Linked DNA regions of Homo sapiens: all the other regions are linked to region 1. Evidence: promoter capture Hi-C in 16 types of primary human blood cells and fetal thymus (Javierre and others, 2016). All regions are on one chromosome and are shown on one strand. Each heading gives the region's core, a stretch centred on a gene start or on the middle of the fragment in contact. The rest is flanking DNA. Distances are from core to core; before and after follow the strand shown.

Region 1 (2,990 bases), core at 223-2,722:
TTTTCTGGGCAAAGACCAAATCGTAAAACCTCCAAAGGTTTCAAGGTCTTCTTCAAAACTATGAAGTCAGCTGACATCAATACCTTTCCCATTCCCTACCCAAATTAACCACGTTTATCTTTCAATCCAGAATTGAGAATCCAGTCTTCTAATAGCCCTATAAAAAAATTTTTTTTATAGCCCGGGACATTAAAGAGCTATTTTGTGTCCTGGTGATGTAGAATGCAATTGGCAAAGAACAGGAGGGACATGTCTAGTGTCTCCCTTCAGACTCATTAGTATGCTCCACAAAGTAAATGAGACTGAGCACCACCGTGTCCCCATAACATTACCAAACTCCTTGTACTTCTCACACTCTGTGTGATTTAACCCACAATCTCAGCCACATCCCCTCGGGGCTCTCTCGAGGAGTTTTCTTTTCACTCCTCTCATTGAAATGCCACTTCTCTTCCCCATCCCAGCGTGTGCCCAGGGCTGCCAAAAGGTACTCCCTCTTCTCGGGAGGTTTCCCACCAGATCTCCTTTTCCTCGACTCAGTCCAGAGAAGCCAGGATTTCCCGGCTTCCACTCCACCCCAAGGCACTAAGGAAGGATTTGAAAAAATGGAATCCATCTCAACCTTGTTCGATTTCCCCCCAAAACCTATCCACTCGTCGTGCCTCCTGGCCCCTCAGGAATCAGGACCCTCTCGGGCACACCAGGTTCAGTCCTGCAACCTTCGTTCCTAGCCCGAGCTCGCCCCACCTTCCAACCAGGCCCCGAATGGCCCCCCATCCCACCTCCAACCCAGGACTCCCGGAGGCCCTCCCTCTCTCCAAGCCGGGGAGCCCGGTGTCGACCCTCACGCCCACCCCCGCAATAACTGGGCGCCCCGTCCCGCGCGGTCACCTGCATCCCGCCGCCACCGTCGGCCGCCGCCTCCTCAGTGCGCGGCCGCTTGCTCAGGCCGGGATCGGCTCCGTCTCCTCCCGCTCCGGGCACCGGCAGCTCCAGCTCCGACTCCCGCTTCATGCCCCGGGCGGCGGCGCCGGGCCCGAGCTGAGGCGGCTGATGCGGCTGGGCGCCCTCCGCCATCCGCCCGCGCCCCCCTCGCCTCCGGGAGCCGGGCGACCCGCGACAGGCCACCTCCCCCTGGGCCTCGGCCCCGACTGTCGCGACAGGCGGGCGCGCGCCTGCCCCCGCCCCCGCGTGCGTGCGTGCGTGCGCGCGAGCGGACTCCGCGCCCCTCCGCGCCTCGCGGCCGCCGCTCCTTGCCTGACCGCTTGCTCCCCGCCCGCCCGCCCGCCGGGTTGTCGGCGCGGGGCCACTGGCGGGTCGTGATGAGCACTCGCTCGCGCCCCCGCACGCACACGCGAAACCCGGCCCGGCCCGCCGCGCCGCCCCGCCTCTCGCACTCCCGGAGCTCGCCCACCGGCCGCGCTGGCTCACACTCTCCCTCACAGCACGCCGGCCGAGGGAGGAAGGGGGCGGTCCGGGCTCCCGAGGCGTGGGGAGGGCTGTTTATTTTGGGGGGAGGAGGGGCGCGAGGCAGGAACGAGCTGACTGGCCGGGATCCTCCGACCCGCCACTGTGGCAGCACCGGGAAGGCGGGGAGAGAGAAAGAGGGAGGGAGGGAGGGACCGGGATGTAGAACTCCAGCCCGCGCGGGAGGCTACGGCGAGGGGGGCGGTGGCGGCCCGCGGGGGGGGCGGGGCCAGGCCCCCTCGGCAATCTCCGTAGTCTCCTCGCTGGCTGCCCGAGGGAGGCCGGGAAGCGATCGGGGAAGCTCGGGAATCTCCGGCACGGGCCTGGGATTGTCCTGGAGGCACAGCGCGGCTGGAGTGCGGGGCAGCGCGGGGGGGGCGGGGTCTGTCTCCTTTCTGGGCGGGGCCGTATCCTGGAGCAGGCGGGGCTTGAGAGACCCGAAGGCCAGGGAGTGGCTCCTGCTTGCGGTACTAGTTGTACAGAGTTAAGTCCTGAGTTTACTCGCCTGAGCACCTTGGTTCCCGGAGAGGGAATGGGCACTCTGTGAGAGGCAGGCTATTTGCCTGCTTCCCCTCCCGCAGAAGAAAAAATGTCTCAAATTGGAAGGTCGAGGAATGAAGCCACCCCTCTATGGTTCACCCCAGTTCTGAGAGCTTTTACTCTAATATAACTCACATTCCTAATGAAGTTAGTAATAATACCCGATGTTTGTAAGAGCTTTAGAGTTTGCACAATGCATCCACAGACCCGTTTCAAACTGGTGATATAAGTAGATACCATGATCTCCATTTCATTGATGATGAAACTGAACCTTAGTTAAATCCTGCAGCAAAAAAGTGGCAGATCCGGAATTCAGAACACGAGAACATATTCTCTTTCTTCGTACCTTGCTGCCTGAGGAGCACTTTATGACTTACCAACTTCGTGGAGATAGAGATATCTGTGCAATAGATTCTCTCCCCTACCAGACTGTGAGGACAAGGACTGCAGTGACTTCCTCTGAGTTCCATATCGTGCCCTGTACGTTATAGAAATAAAAGGATATTGCGTGAATAACCTGGATTCTAATCTTGGCTTTGCTAACTAGCTTAAACAAGTTACTTCATCTCTTTGGACCTCAGCTCCATCATTTGTAAAATGAGATGGTTTGGATCAGTGGCTTTCAACCAAGGAGAAATTTTGCCATTCCACCACCTCCACTCCCACATTTGTCAGTGACTGAAGGCATTTTTTTTTTTTTTTTTTTTTTTTTTTTTGAGACAGAGTCTCGCTCTGTCGCCCAGGCTTAAGTGCAGTGGCGCGATCTCGGCTGACTGCAACCTCTGCCTCCTGGGTTCAAGCGATTCTCCTGCCTCAGCCTCCCCAGTAGCTGGGACTACAGGTGTGCGCCACCAACTAATTTTTGTATTTTTAGTAGAGATGGGGTTTCACCATGTTGGCCAGGCTGGTCTCGAACTCCTGACTTCAGGTGATCCGCCTGCCTCGGCCTCCCAAAGTGCTGAGATTACAGGAGTTAGCTGCCGCGC
Region 2 (3,281 bases), core at 417-2,916, 190 kb before region 1:
TAAGCACAGGAATGACAAAATCAGACTTGCATTTTAAATGATTCACTCTGGCAATGACCTCTAATGAATTAGTTTCCTGAATTTAATCATTCTAATAGTAATAGAGAAACATTTAAGAGTCTGGGGAATAGACACAATACATTGTGATGGCAGAATGCAGCATTTCTCACTGCCTAGAAGAGGTTGAACACTGGAGCCCACTAAGAAAGGTGCTACAATCAAAAGAGCAAAGTATTTACTGCAGGGGAGCCTTGTATTTGTGCCTGGCAAATTTCACATACAAAATGTTGGGAGGAAATGTTCAAAAAAGATTTGACAGTGGTTTGGAAATGTTGAAAAAAAAGAGTGAGGAATTATGACTTCGGAAGGGAACATGTGGGATACCAATAATGTCAGATCCCGGAGAGGAATGGTATACCAGAAGGAGACCAGGGTGGGTAAGGGGGGGCTGTATCACCTAGTATGACTGGTTCCCAGAAACTATCTGTCTACCATAAACAGATGTCCAAGAAACAACCCCTAGGTAAGGAATTACATGATGAAAAGTTCAAATTTGAGAGAGATAAAATTGTTTACATATGGCAATCTGTGTAGATCAGAGTTTGGAATTTCTCAGGGGAGAACAGAAAACTGGAGGAACAAAACCAGGAATTTGAGCTTATGCCTTATCACTGAGAGGAATGAGGAATGTCATTACTGTTCAATATGAAGATGTCTCCTGTAGCAATACAAATTTAAGTAATAGGTTGTCAAATATTAAGCTTACCTAGACTCAATTGCAAAGCTAAGGAGAAAGATAAAGGAAAAAATAGAGAAGGGGGCCAAAAAAGAAAGAGAAAAGTGTGTGTGATTAGGGGGTGACTAAGACGGAAAAAACAATTTAATGAGTCAAGATTGCTCGGATTTCATCATAGCTTCATTTATGAAATTCTGTTTATCTTTTCAAGAAAGCTAAGTAATTTTTAGAAAAGCAATACTTTTCAAGAGACAATCTTGGCCTCAGCGAAGAAATGATTATAACTGAAGATATGGAGCAATGTAGAAGAATTCAGAAAGAAACCAAATCTCTGGAAAAAGTGAGGCTTTTTTTTTTCATTGTAAAGGAACATAAATTCAGTCTCCAACCCACAATCCCCGCCTATCCTCCAACTCCCCAAATCCTGCAAAGCCCATAGAAAGTGGAAAGTGTGCCAAAACAAACAGTGTGGCTGCAGCTCCGTGGATGAAGGGTGGGATAAGGTTCGAGTGGCAAGGGAGCATGACTGGCAGGCAACCGAATGGAATCACTTTAAAGCAGTGCCACAAAATGGAGACTAAATGCTGAGAGGACCTCCAGAATTCAAAGAAAATGGGATATGCTTAGCAAAATCACAGAATAGATTCTCTACTCCAACTCCTTTCAAAAACCAGACAAACAAAAACAGGAAAAGAGAAAATGAAACAAAGCAAAACATACCTGCTCTCTTATCTGTCTTTAATTAAAGCATAAAATACCCTCCCTCTTCTCTTCTCCCAACCACCCAGGAACAGAAGAGCGAACTGGCAGCAGCTCAGGTGAAAGACTTCAGCCTTCCAGCTACAAAGAGGGGAGATAGCAGACAATGGAACTGGTGATTCATTACAAAAGAATACACTCCAGAGCGGCCTGCTGCCACATGGACTCACTGCACTATTTAAAGGAACAGCAACCCCCTTTCCAACCTCCCTTATTCCTAACACCTTCCCTCCTCTTGGTCCTGATGGAAAACAGATTTTGAAGAAAATGCCAGCAAAGCACTGAGCTGTCCAAGAAAGGGAGGGCTTTGTGTTCCACAGAAACTGGCAGTCTTATACCATAGTAGAGTACAAAAATTTTCTTTCACATCCATACTGTAAAATCTTTTCCTCTCTGCCTAGTACACTTTCCCTTTCAACAATAGATAGTATAACTGAATTTGAGTTTGGCTAAACATTTATTTTTTACTAATTAGTGTTGAAGTCATTTGCAATTTTGTTTTTCGAATTTTACACATAGTACAAGAATGATTTATCTTTCCTTCATATTCCATATTGCTATTTTCATAAATATGAGATGCAATAATCTGGTCTATATGCCCAAAAAATAAGAGATCTCAGTGAAATACTCCTACAACATACACATGAACAGCCGATAAAATTAACGTTTTAAGTATCACATAAGCATGTCTATCGGCTATATTAGAATTTTGTGATTAAATTGCCATTTGCTTTTTAGCAGAGCACTGATTACTTACTATAAATGACAGAGTAGTTTGATAATTAAAACAAAAACAGGCCCTATAAAAGTAGAGCATATGTAATAATAAAGCGCATACACTGTGCAAATACTGACAAGGATCTAATATGGTATGATGAAAAAGTCATTCACTGAAAGCCCTTTTCCAACAGCTGAGCAATGGAAACTGGGGACTACAGAGATGGTATCATCTGAAGATGCAAAGAACCTAAGTAGCAAAACAGTGAAAACACATCCATACATCGCTCTTACATTGTAATAAACCGTTTAACTTTGAAAACCCAGGCCTAACCACCAGTATAGACATTCTATATTGAGAAAGCTTATGTGACAGGTCATTATCAAATGTTGGGATTGGATGTCTGGCTCAAACACACACACACACACATGTGCACACACACACACACACGCAGGCACAACACAACACAACCACAGGACAAATGAAAGACTTGGCCCAGCTGGTTATTTCCTTTGATTGTTTTCCCCCTAGATTACTAACAACTATGTACATTACATTAACACAGAAAGTATATACAACAAAACAAATACGCTGGAATACTGAAAATTCACAAATTTGATATTCTATCCTTGCCAGTTGTATAATTTCAGGATGGGCAAAAACTCATAACTTTTCTTCAATATTTAGCACATCCTGATAAAACAGGTGATTTTATTATTAGAATTATTAAGCACCCCAGAATCTCTCTTTCCAGTTTCCATTTATTTCTTCTACTTCATTCCTAAACTTATGGCTTCTTTAAATACTAATTATTACGACCACAATATTAAGTGTGCATAAGCATGTGCACTCTAACTTAATGGTCACACACACTACACTTACCAGCTCCTCTAGAAACTAAGGGGAAATGTTCCAAGAGGCAATAGAAAACTCATCATAAAAATTTCCATTTTAGATCATTCTTTCACTAGTTTAAAAAATAAATAATGAAAAGTCAAGTCATTGAAAAGCCTTCAGTAATTGCTAAGCAAGAAGAGAGCTGTTACCCTCTAATATTGCCAGTTAATA
Region 3 (3,423 bases), core at 489-2,988, 220 kb after region 1:
TTCTGCCCACCCTCAGAAAAATGCACATATGCCTGCTTCCTCTACTCTATGTTCATTTTTATCTTATATAAAATGTAGACGAACTGTGCATGAGACGAATGAATAATTGACTGTTCCTCTACCCCCTCCTTTCATAGACAACCTGTGGATTCAAGGAGGGCTAATCAAAGCTTCACAAGAATGTGACCACTCACCTCATTACCTATCCTGTCTTTTTTCCTTTCCTCCTTCCACTCCTGCCTGATTTTACACATTTAAATACTGGAGGCCTCAAAACCCTCTGTGAAAAACGAGTGGACCCCAGAACCTCCTGTGACTTGTGTGACTTTTTCCTGGGTGCATCCTCAACCTTGGCAGAGTAAACATCTAAACTGACTGAGACGTGTCCCAGACCCTCTTTGGTTTACAAGTCTTGCCTCCTCCCTGAGTTGCTGGATGAAAGCAACGTCCTCTCTTCTTGCCTCAGTTTCCTCATCTGCAAAATCAGATCATAATCCTGGCCCATTGAGGGGATGATTATAAAACTCAATCAAATGGAGAAGCATTTGCAAATGGAATGTATTGCAAAGTGTATTGTGCAGTCCCTGTGTAATCACCATTCTCTTCCTGCCTCATAAGCTGGTGTGTGTGTGTGTATGGGTGGGGTGAGGTGGACACGATGCCCCCAGAGATGTTTGCTCAGGATGAAATAGGCCCCCATGGAAGGGTCAGGTTGGCTTCTGTGGTTTAGCTGCCTTTGAGGCCCTTCTGCCTGGGGCAAAGCACAAAAGTCCAATAGCAATCTGGTTGCATGACTTCCTAGTCATGGAAGTGTGGCTGAGCAGTGGTCTCTAGTCCCTCCACCCTGTGTGCCTCGGGAGTGGAACACGGGGCAGTGGCCTCTGCTGGGGAGGATGCTGGGGGATCTCTGAAAGGAGGCAATGCCTGATTTTGTCACTGAACGATGAGCATGATTTTTCCAGGCGGTGGAAGCAGGTGCTCCCGGCAGAAGACCCCATATAAGCAAATATCTAGAAGCCACAAGGCATGGCCTTCAACAAGAGCAGGCCTGGTGCGGTGGCTCATGCCAAGGTGGGAGGATCACTTGAGGCCTGGAGTTCAAGAGTAGCCCAGTCAATATAGTGAGGCACCATCTCTAATATAATTTTTTTAAAAATTAGCTGGGTGGTTGGCTGATACCTGTAGAACCAGCTACTCAGGAGGCTGAGGTGGGGGGATGGCTTAAGCCCAGGGGTTTGAAGCTGCTGTGCGCGATGACTGTGGCACTGCAATTCAGTCTTGGTGACAGACTGAGACCCTGTCTCAAAAACATAACCAAAATAACCCCAACGGCATTACAATAAATATACAATAAGCATCCACAAGGCATGTGTGGGAGACTGTGCTTATGCCGATGGCACGGGCAGGAGTAAGGCAGGCATCAGGGGAATGTGGATGCACGGGAGGATGGGGAGTAATCTGCAGGGTCCCATAGTATGTCAGTGGCAGGTCTTTCTCCTTGAGACCACAGCAGACCCCCAGCCCTGAGGATGCGAGGCAGGTGGGTTGGATGAGAGGGATCTGGATGTCTGGTCTCAGGCTGCTCCTCTAAGGGCAGCAGCAAGGAGGGTGGGGCTGGACTGAAGGTGGAGGGGAGCGTGTTTGCTGTGCTTGGTCATGAGCTGCTGGGAAGTTGTGACTTTCACTTTCCCTTTCGAATTCCTCGGTATATCTTGGGGACTGGAGGACCTGTCTGGTTATTATACAGACGCATAACTGGAGGTGGGATCCACACAGCTCAGAACAGCTGGATCTTGCTCAGTCTCTGCCAGGGGAAGATTCCTTGGTAAGTTGGGGACAGTTGACCTGCCTCCATCTTATTCTCACAGCTTTTGTAGATAAGCTGGGAGAGGTTAGGTGACTGGTTCAGATAGACAGGAAAGTAGCGGCAAAGCCTGGATTTGCACCCAGGCTTGAGTCTGATTGCTTCCCCTCTCCTGCTGGGCTCTTAAACTATAGAGGGTTGGGGAAACAGCTCAGATGGGTTCACAAAGCTCCCTGGGCTCAGCCCTGGTTTTGACTGCTGAGACACGACTGAGTGAACCCAGAAGGAAGGTTTGTGTTGGGGGTGCCCATCTCTTTGGGAAATTTGAAGGAACCAAAGAAGGTGGAGGAGAGGAGGTGACCCAGATCCCAGCCTGTTCTTATGGCCAGGCCACACCAAGGCTGGCCCCAGGGTGCTGCTGCTGAGGCCCAATGGGGGCAACAGAATTTTTTTTCAGGTACAAGGAGTTCAGAGGTCATCTCACCCACCCTGAGTCTGAGCACCAACTTGTGCCAGGCCCTGTGGGGAAACTGAGGCCCTGGGAGCGGAATGACTTGCCCAGGGTCCCGTGTCAGGAGGCTGAGCAGGTAGATCATAGGACTCCACGTCTCTGGCCCTCACCTCTGTCCCTCTGTTCAGACTTCTGGGGTGATGGAGAAGAAACAGGCTGTGCTGTGTCCCTAATGGGAAACGTGGCTGAGACAGGGGAGTGAGAAGGGTGCGTTGCAGAATGGTGCCTGTGGCATGATGCCAGCTTTGCAATCATGAGATTCAAAAGCCACACTGTGGAATTGTGAGTATAACTACAGGAGTGAGAGCTTAGATCTCTGTGTTCATAGAAGGAGAATCAAACCTGGAAACTTTTGGATTATTAAAATCAAACATTTTTGCTTCAATATTAGAGTCACAAGGGCAGATGTTGGCCTCCCCTCTGCCCTCCAAGAGCTGTGTGACTCTGGGAAATTCACCTCCCCTCCCAGCCTGAGTATTTTCCCCTGTAAAAAACCTGATAGAGCTGCCAAAAGTCCATGAAATCAGGGGGGTAATTTCTGTGAAATCTGAGTCATGGTCTTATTTGTTCTTCACCAAAAAGAGATGATGAAGCCTGTAACCCCAGTGCTGTGGGAGGCAGAGGCGGGAGGATGACTTGAGGCCAGGAGTTCAAGACAGCCTGGGAAACACAGGAGATGCTGTCTCTATGAAATCAAAAATTAACAAATTAGCCCAGCATGGTAGTGTGTACCTGTAGTCCCAGCTACTCAGAAGGTTGAAGGAGGCGGATCACTTGAGCCCAACAGATCTAGGCTGCAATGAGCTAGGATGGTGTCAAAGCCCTGCAGCCTGGGTGACAGAGCAAAACTGTTTATTAAAAACTAAACGAAAGGCCGGGCGCGGTGGCTCACGCCTGTAATCCCAGCACTTTGGGAGGCCAAGACAGGTGGTCACGAGGTCAGGATATCGAGACCATCCTGGCTAACATGGTGAAACCCTGTCTCTACTAAAAATACAAAAAAATTAGCCGGGTGTCGTGGCGGGCACCTGTAGTCCCAGCTACTCGGGAGGCTGAGGCAGGAGAATGGCGTGAACCCGGGAGGCAGAGCTTGTAGCGAGCCTAGATC

Evidence for each region. The method cuts DNA at HindIII sites, captures the fragments that hold promoters and counts their contacts. A CHiCAGO score of 5 or more calls a contact.
Region 2: a contact is called between a fragment that was not itself captured here and the fragment with the promoter of RBFOX2 in region 1, in 1 of 17 cell types (endothelial precursors). The highest score is 5.2, in endothelial precursors.
Region 3: a contact is called between the fragment with the promoter of APOL1 here and the fragment with the promoter of RBFOX2 in region 1, in 2 of 17 cell types (non-activated CD4 T cells and total CD4 T cells). The highest score is 5.6, in non-activated CD4 T cells.

What each region holds. Positions count from the first base shown.
Region 1 is chr22:36,027,352-36,030,341 of GRCh38, forward strand. It overlaps RBFOX2 (RNA binding fox-1 homolog 2), which reads right to left and starts at 1,473. Exons shown (of 14, transcript NM_001349999.2): 1 at 889-1,473. The coding sequence starts at 1,074. RefSeq lists a silencer at 1,639-1,708. The HindIII fragment of the contact is 7,441 bases long and covers 1-2,990 here.
Region 2 is chr22:35,834,864-35,838,144 of GRCh38, forward strand. All of the region lies in intron 2 of RBFOX2 (RNA binding fox-1 homolog 2), which reads right to left. Among named protein-coding and RNA genes, the nearest start is that of APOL5, 120 kb to the left of the region's middle. The HindIII fragment of the contact is 1,815 bases long and covers 760-2,574 here.
Region 3 is chr22:36,251,395-36,254,817 of GRCh38, forward strand. APOL1 (apolipoprotein L1) reads left to right here and starts at 1,739. Exons shown (of 6, transcript NM_003661.4): 1 at 1,739-1,825. RefSeq lists an enhancer at 1,792-1,851. The HindIII fragment of the contact is 9,856 bases long and covers 169-3,423 here.